Regions from separate parts of the Homo sapiens genome. Here all the other regions are linked to region 2. The links are contacts of gene promoters, found by promoter capture Hi-C in human tissues and cell types (Jung and others, 2019). All regions are on one chromosome and are shown on one strand. Each heading gives the region's core, a stretch centred on a gene start or on the middle of the fragment in contact. The rest is flanking DNA. Distances are from core to core; before and after follow the strand shown. Region 1 has its middle 7.1 kb from the start of MVB12B. Region 2 holds the start of GAPVD1 (GTPase activating protein and VPS9 domains 1). Region 3 overlaps MVB12B (multivesicular body subunit 12B).

Region 1 (2,929 bases), core at 313-2,812, 1.1 Mb before region 2:
AAGAGGTTCTAGAACAGAATGCATTTATTATATGAGCCCATCAATTTTATATGTATTTGTGATTATTTATATGTATTCATATATGCATAAAATTCTTGAAAAAATATATACCCAATGTTAACTGTTTAACAGTGGCTACGTCTTGGGAATGGTTTACACAGAGACTATCATTTTTTATTTTAGCATATTTGCATCACTTAGGAATATGGATACAAATAACAGAAAATTCAACCAACAGTAGCTTGAACAGTAGGTGTTTATTTTACTGGCCAGTAATCATCTTCAGTCTTCTTGTTAAGAAAGAATGAAGCCATTAAGAATACATGTCCATCCACACTTCTTTGACATCTTCAGCTTGATGTCTTTTCTGTCATTGCCTCATGGGTGCAGGATTACTCCCCCAGCTTCAGATGTCATGGCCTGGCAGCAAAAACTTTCTCAGAAACTCCCCACCAGGCCTGCTTAGATACCATTGGCTAGAAATGGGTCACATTGCCCCTCCTCACTGCAAGGGAGGATGGGAAATTGGCTTTGTCAATGGCAGTCACTTCCTGAGACTGGCCGTATTTCCAGGCCAATACAAAAAAAAAAAAAAAAAAAAAAAAAATCACTGTTTCATTATCAAGGAAGAAGGCAATTAAGTTTTTAAAAAAATTAATAATGAACTATATGACCTTTATAATCAGGGGAAAAAATGTCAGTGCATTTCATACATGATAAGATCCCAGAAAGTGTTCAGTGCCACAAATAGTACCTGTTCTGAAAGAGATGGGTTAAGGGTGGAGAGCCGTGCAAAGCAGGCCTTCATGCTTACCAGGCCTTACCTGCACAGGTCCAGGGCCAACTCGGGCAGCTTCCTGGAGCTCAGATCCCCACCACTCACTTCCTTCCTTTTTGGCCCTCTTTAAGGGCTCTCTCAATTATGATAATAAATACATCATTACTCCTAGGGCTGTTTTCTGGTATTGATCTGCGGGAACTAGAATGGATTGATTCTGCCTTGAAAGAGTAAGGGTAAAATCTCCTCAGTTATGAGTCTTGCTGGCTAAACAGAACTTTTCCCTGATCTGCACAGTTTTTGACCTGCTGGTAGGAGCAGAAAGCAGGCAGGTGGGATTAGCATGTTTGTGGGACAGGTGTGTAAATGTGGCAGGCTCACTTTCACAAGACTTTGACTGGATGGATGTGAGAAATAAACGGAGGATACCCACAAACAGTGCTGTTGAAATGAAGAAGCCATAAACACATGCAGACCTGCTTTTATGACACTGAGGCCCCACAGAATAACGGATCCAACTTGTGATTGTTTCAACACCTTCCCTAATAGAGAGGGCCTTTGTGCCGCAGAGAGCTGGTACAAAGACAGCATTCAGCAAAAGCGACTTCCTTTCTTTAGATTGTAAGCTTCACAGGGGCAGGCACCTGAGGAGCCCTGTCTCTTTTATTTACCACTCTAGGACTTAGCAGGCACTCAACAAATAATTCTTGAATTAATGTCGGTCCTTATCTGCAACTGTTAGGAATCATGATCATTGCCATTCACGGGGTATTTCCTCTGTGTCAGGCACTGGGCTAGGTCCTTCTGCCTAAACTATTTCACTCAATAACCAACACTGATCCTGTAAAGCAGGGAGTATGATTGCCATATTATAACTACAAAAACTGGGGCTCAGAGAGATAAAGTGGCTTTCCTAAGTTATATCATGGAAAGTAGGAGTTAGAGGTATTAGACTCTAAAGTCGATGCTTGGAACTTCACTCTACAAAACTCTTTTTTTGTGTTTTTTTGTTTTGTTTTGTTTTCGTTGTTGTTTTTTGTTTGTTTTTGTTTTGAGACAGGATCTCACTCTGCTGCCCAGACTGAGTGCAGCGGTGCAATCCTAGCTCACTGCAGCCTTGAACTCCTGGCTAATTTTTAGATTTTTTTTTTTAGAGGCAGAGATCTCGCCGTGTTACCCAGGCTGGTCTTGAGCTCCTGGCCTCAAGCAATCCTACCCCGTCAGCCTCCCAAAGCACTGGGATTGCAGGTGAGAGCCACTGCACCTGCCTACAAAACTCTGGAGCAGGATTTCCAGAGTCCTGAAACGCATTGTGTTGGATAGAGCCCTGATTCTCAGGACAATGGTTGTTTCTTCACTCTCTCACTGGGAGTCCAGGCCAAGCTTCTGGATTTAGAGAGACGAGCAGAGTCAGTTGTGCCCTCAAGATATTCACAGGCTGTAGGGAGATTCAGATGTTGTTCAGTGATCATTTGGTTTTCCGTAACAGAAATGCTCTCAAACCCAGTTAGGCATAAAACAGAATTCATGGAACAAACTGGGATTCTCTCACGGAAGCAGTCTCGTACGGCAGGCACATTTCCAGGCCTCTTCCAGGGCTATGTTTCCTCCTGTTTCCCCTTTTCCCTGTGTCTGCCTTTGTTTTTTGCCCTTTCTAACAACGACTTTTCTCTTCTTCTCCTCCCTGTCCACAGTCTAACAATTGCTGCCATGATGGTGTTCTCAGCCCACAGTCTATATCACATCAGTCCCAGTGGCCTGCAGACAGTGACAAGGCATCTCTAAGCTCCAATTCCAGACTTTCAGAGAGATGATCTGACAGGCCCAGTAAAGGTCAGAACTACCCCAGACCCAATAAACTGGGACAGAGGGCAGGATCGCATCACATCTATGTGCCCACTTCCCTGGGCCAGGCAAACCTCAGGAAGGTTAGGGCTGCAGGTGTACTCAGGAAGAACTGACACCAGAAACCCAGAGCTTCCTTTATCTCAGCTTCATTCTCTCATTACAGACCTTCTTCTTCCACATGGCAGAATCAGACTGCTGACAGTTTTATATCCTCTTATTGCTTCTACCACTAAATAAAAATTGGCTGTCTAAGATTCACTTTAAAAATCCTGGGAAAAGATTCCAATGGGCCTAGCTATGACC
Region 2 (2,754 bases), core at 26-2,525:
TGTGATTACAAGGGAAACCAATTATATGGAAATATTAGCAAAACAACAAACTAATATGGTCATAATATATGTACAGCCTTATTATCACATTAAATAACAATGTCTAACGGCGGGTCTAGTAACACCAGAAATTCAAAGAAGTGTTAACCATAAATGATATTCTGAGCTATCTGCAACTGTAAACATGATGCAAAAATATCCGTAATTTTTATTGATCACAAAGTCATAGGCGCTGCTAATGCTACTCTGGCTTGTTGTCCACATTCGTAACTGAAGGAAATAATAAGTTTCAGTTAGCAGTCAATAAAAATAATGATGTCATTTTATCCTCCTTCTAGTGAAAGGACCCTTCTAATTCTATCCATCAATGAACTCCAGTTTAAAACCCCTCTCTAGTTCAAAGTCCTGCTCAGAACTGATTTTCGTCATAAATTTAAAAATAAAAACACTGATTCCTCCTTTGACCTAGTTCTCATCTGAACCTATCACTATGTCTCCCTGTTTTTATGCACATTTATACACAGAACCCTGGGTGTACTTCTGTGGTTTGCCTAGCCAGCACTCACTACAATTTTGCCAGTCAATAAAAGGTGAAGTTAAAAGAAAAGGGATGGAAACAACCAACAGCTCCCTCACTTTCAGACCTCCGACAGCAAGTGGAAAGATGCCAAGTACAGTGAGTGTCTGTGTTAGGTGGGCTGCCCCCAGACCCGTGTGTCCAGCTTGTCAAGCTTCCCTGCAGCACGATATCTTTATCAGCGACACTCAGAAGACATTCCATTTCGTTCTCGCCTCCTATACTCAGTTCCCTACCTGCCGGGCCTCTCGTCTCTGGCCCCCACCCGAGGCCGCCCCGCGGTCCTCCTGTCCCTTCCCATCCCATCCCCCACGCGTCTCTCCCTCTCCTCAGCCCCAGGCCGCCCTGGCTCCTGCGCGCCGCCACATCTCTCCCCTGGGTCTAACCCAGTGTCCCCCGACCCCCACCTCGCCCGACACTGACGGGAAGAGCCCAGGACCCCGGGGTCAGTTGGACCTGACGGCCGGGCAGTCAGAGACAGGCTGCGGCCCTAGGCCGGAGCAACCCGGCCGCGAGGCAGGGAGCCGCTCACAGCCCGCGGACTAAATCGGGACGCGTACTCACCAAGGGGGTCATGCGGGGGAGGACACGGAGGACTCTGTCGGACCGCCACTCGGCCTCGGAGCCGTCGCCCTAGCCGGTGACTGCCCCCGCCGCCGCTGCCGCCACCTTCGCCACTCGCCTGTTGGCTTCCCTGCGTCCTGCAGCGGCGCTGCCGCCACGCCAGCGCGCGTGCGCAGCGCCGCGGGGGCCTCTGGGAGCTGTAGTTCCGCCCGGGCGGCTAGGGGCTCCCACTTCCGCCTTAGGCAGCCCTAGGTCAGCTGCCCCCTGAGGCTGTCGTGGGTGTCCGGGTCCGGAATCGTCTTCCGGAAGGCTGTTCACCAGGCCTGGGCCCTGGTTTCCGCCTGCAGTAATGCTGGACGTGAAGAATCCGACTGAGCAAGTATGTGTAAAGCAAAAATGTAGAGCGTTTTATGCTTTCTGTGACAACGCTCAGTTGCCCAGGACACATTATTCGCATGAATGACTCTCTCTCTTCTCTGTTTCTCTCTCACACGTACGCACACACTACTTACAAACCTCCCTTCCCTTTTTTTTTTTTTTTCGAGACGGAGTCTGGCTCTGTCGCCCAGGCTGGAGTGCAGTGGCTCAATCTCGGCTCACTGCAAGCTCCGCCTCCCGGGTTCACGCCATTCTCCCGCCTCAGCCTCCCAAGTAGCTGGAACTACAAGCGCCCGCCACCACGCCCGGCTAATTTTTTGATTTTTAGTAGAGACGAGGTTTCACCGTGTTAGCCAGGATGGTCTCGATCTCCTGACCTCGTGATCCGCCCGCCTCGGCCTCCCAAAGTGCTGGGATTACAGGCGTGAGCCACCGCTGCCGGCCCCTCCCTTCCCTTTTGTTCTAAGTGCCATTAATTGGTTTGGATGGTATCTGGATTTTCAGTGTAAAACCTGCCTTCCCACTTCTCAGTTTCTAAAATCTTGCTTATCATAAACTTCACCATGCAGTTATTTTAGGTAAGTCAATAAATGAACTGTCTAATAATTTTTGTAACACCATAACTCATATATTCAGAGGTCAAGTTAGCTGAGTTGAACAGTCTAGAAACCTTAAAATTGGAAGATACCTGCTTAAAGGTCACTAGTGCAACTGTTGCCCAGGCAGGAATTCCCTCCTGTACATTCAGCCAGATGGTCATCTTCCTGTTCAACAGTTCAAATTTCAGGGAGCTCACTCCCTCAAGTAATGCAGCCTGCTCCACTGTTGGACAGCTCTAAATGTTAGAAAGTTCTGCCTCCTGCTGAGCTGAAATCTGTTTCCCTTTATTTCCTTCCATTGCTGGTAGTTAGGCTGCCTGGAGCAATACAGAATGTCTTCCACTTGACAGATCTTCAAAAAATTGAGAACAATGATTATATCCTCCAATACTGGGAGTCTCCAGGCAAAAAAAGGAAAAAAGTAATAATCATTTCCCCAGCTATTTCAAATGTCAATCAACTCCCAAACTGCTTTCTATCTACTCACCTCTCTTGATGTCACCTTTAGGGGCATGGTGGCATATGCCTATAATCCTAGCACTTTGCGAGGCCAAGGCAGGAGGATTGCTTGAGCCCAGAAGTTCAAGACCAGCCTGAGCAACATAGTGAAACCCCAACTCTACAAAAAATACAAAA
Region 3 (2,747 bases), core at 126-2,625, 1.2 Mb before region 2:
AGCTGTAGAAGAGAGAAAATAATAATACCTGGACTGCAATGACATTCAAACAAGATAAAAACATAAAGCCCTAGGTACGAACGAACTGCTCAGTAACTGTTAGCCATTCGTATTAGTGTTAGTGTTATTACTGCTGTACAGAGGGAAATACCCTTTCACGGTTGACCTTTTTCTACCTGCTTTCACATAAGAACGTAAGTGCAGCCATATTAAATTACACAATCCATGGGCTGTGAGACCCAATCCAAAGACGTTTGGTGGGACGGAAGCAATGTTTGCTAAGGAGTCACTCATTGGGCACCCAGACCAGGGTGCCCTCACACCACAAACGAACATTCTTAGAGGTTCTATTTGGCATGAGCAATCTGGATTACACACACACACACACACACACACACACACAGAGCACTGACTCCTCCTAGGCTCCCCATCTCTACACAGAAGACTGTAATTGAGGGGCTCGCTTCATCCCTCTGCATCCCTAGTGCCCTGGGAGGAATCTAGGGCCACCAGCCCCCCCACCTCCTCCTTCAGGGCAGTCCCTCCCTCCAGGGTCCAGGGTGCAGTGCTGGGCTGCACAACCTCATGCAGGTCCAGGGCAGTTCTCTGAAAGCTATGGGAGCACAGAGGGAAGGCAGCTGCCCCACAGTCCACACCCACAAGAAACTCGACACACAACAAGAACATTCTCACTGAGCCTCAGAAGCTTGGATCTTGCTTCCAAGTCGAGCTTGACTTGCAACACCAGAGATAGCAGACACCACGGAGAGCCATGGTCTGGGGGACCCAATGAGTTACTCCTCAGCAAACATTGCTTTTGTCCCTCCAAACGTCTTTGGGTTGGGACTCACAGCCCCTGGGTTATGTAATTTAATATGGCTGCACTCCTGTTTTTATGGGAAAGCAGGCAGAAAGGGGTCTACCGCGAAAGGGTATTTTCCTCTGTACGGCAGTAATAACACTAATACTCACTAATACTAATACCAGTGGCTAACAGTTACTGAGCAGCTAGTTTGTACCTAGGGCCTTATGTTTTTATCTCATTTAAACATCATAGCAGTCCAGGTATTGTTATTGTCTTTCTTCCACAGTTTAGAAAAGAGAGGCTCAGAGACATTAAAGAAACATTTTTTTAACGTTATAAATATTTAATGGCTTGGGGCAGGGATCAACTGCATTTTGCTCAAGGTAAAGATAAAACGCAACTCAGTGATACTTTTCCACATGAGTTCAAAGGTACCCTGGTGGCTGAGGGGCCACTGGGTCAGTGCACACACCTGCTGCCCACAGCGACAAACGCAGAAACTCCTCAGTGAGCTCGAGACCAAAGGAGCTTTGTAGATGCAGAACAAAAAGCAGACCCAAGGTCCAATGCAGATACGTTACCACTAGTAGCGACCACATCCTCTGGAAGAAGGCATGCTCTAAAACAGGCAGTGTGATCTGCAGCCACGGGGGGTAACTGACAGCAAGGGCCTGACAGGCATGGCCTGTGACTACGGAGCACGCCTGTCCCCCAGGCTGAGCATCACATACACCCCTCGGTTGTGGAGCAGGGAACCTCAGGCTTGGAAGACGCACTTTCTCTGCCAGGGCTCTTTTTACCTTCTCAAAACCAACCCATCTATATTTTTAAGTTGTACTCTTTAACACTTCAGCACATGAATATATTTTCTAAGGAAACCATTCCAATAGGATAGCTAAGTCAAAGCACCCCTTGAATCCGGAGCCGCTGATCCCTGGACCCTTCTCAGAGCAAGCCTTGGTAGTGGTCTGTACACAGTGCCTGGGGTCCTGCCGGCCTGTCTCCCATGCATTCACCTGCGTGTTGGCATGTATAGAAAAAGGACAGAATATTATTTTTTTATTTTTTAGACATGGACTTTTGCTCTATCACCCAGGCTGAAGTGCAGTGGTGCCATCATAGCTGTGTGTAGCCCCGAAATCCTGGGCTCAAGGGGTCTTCCTGCCTCAGCCTCCCAAGTAGCTGGGATTACAGGCATGAGCCACTACAGCTGGCCAGAATTTTGTTTTGTATGTATTCGTGTTTTTAATAAAAATAGCATCACAGCATAAGTAACTGTTTTGCAATTTACTTTTTTTCAATTGACTGTGTTTCCACATCAATTCTTAGAGCTCTGTGTCTCAGCCTTTTTAACTGTTGCATAGAAGTAGGGTCCAGAGACAACCAAGAACCAGCCTGCCAGGAGTCCTGATGGCCATTCTCAGCAGACTGAAGGACATCATGAGGTCCCTGGGGAGCCACCAAAGGGTCTTTGAGCTGGAGAGAGAGATGGGGAGATTTAGGTTTTAACAGCGTCTCCCTGGCTATGGAGAGGAGAATGAATTACAGGGAGTGAGGCTGGAGCAGGAACACCAGGGAGGAAGTTCTGACACTGAACCAGGCGAGGGACGCTGGTGGCCCGGATGAGGGCAGTGGCAGTAAGAATGGAGTGGCTGGGGAAGGCCAAGGGACATTTAGATGGAAGAATCAAGAGACCTGGCCACTGGCTGCAGAGGGGCAAGGCGGAATCAAGGGTGACCCCAGGATCCTGGCCTAAAGAGCTGGGAGAATGAAATGCCAGGTACTGACGGGGCGTGGGGGCCAGCGGAAAAGCAGCAGAGATGAACTCGTGGGTCCCGCTGAGCATGTGTCTGGTTTGAGGGGCTTGGGCCACAGCCAAGGGGAGGCAACTGGTCAACACTGGTTAGAACATTATGACCGAGAATGTGAGATGGGTGTGTGA

The links. Contacts are between HindIII fragments. The study calls those that stand out against the background at their distance.
Region 1: a contact is called between a fragment that was not itself captured here and the fragment with the promoter of GAPVD1 in region 2, in 2 of the 25 tissues and cell types used here (dorsolateral prefrontal cortex and mesenchymal stem cells).
Region 3: a fragment that was not itself captured here is called in contact with the fragment with the promoter of GAPVD1 in region 2 in 1 of the 25 tissues and cell types used here (dorsolateral prefrontal cortex).

Annotation. Positions count from the first base shown.
Region 1 is chr9:126,318,248-126,321,176 of GRCh38, reverse strand. No RefSeq gene overlaps it. Among named protein-coding and RNA genes, the nearest start is that of MVB12B, 7.1 kb to the left of the region's middle. The HindIII fragment of the contact is 4,487 bases long and covers 1-2,929 here.
Region 2 is chr9:125,260,347-125,263,100 of GRCh38, reverse strand. GAPVD1 (GTPase activating protein and VPS9 domains 1) reads right to left here and starts at 1,275. Exons shown (of 28, transcript NM_001282680.3): 1 at 1,142-1,275. RefSeq lists silencers at 1,129-1,258, 1,197-1,378. The HindIII fragment of the contact is 6,614 bases long and covers 1-2,754 here.
Region 3 is chr9:126,468,303-126,471,049 of GRCh38, reverse strand. The region is part of intron 7 of MVB12B (multivesicular body subunit 12B); the gene reads right to left. Among named protein-coding and RNA genes, the nearest start is that of NRON, 59 kb to the right of the region's middle. The HindIII fragment of the contact is 4,519 bases long and covers 1-2,747 here.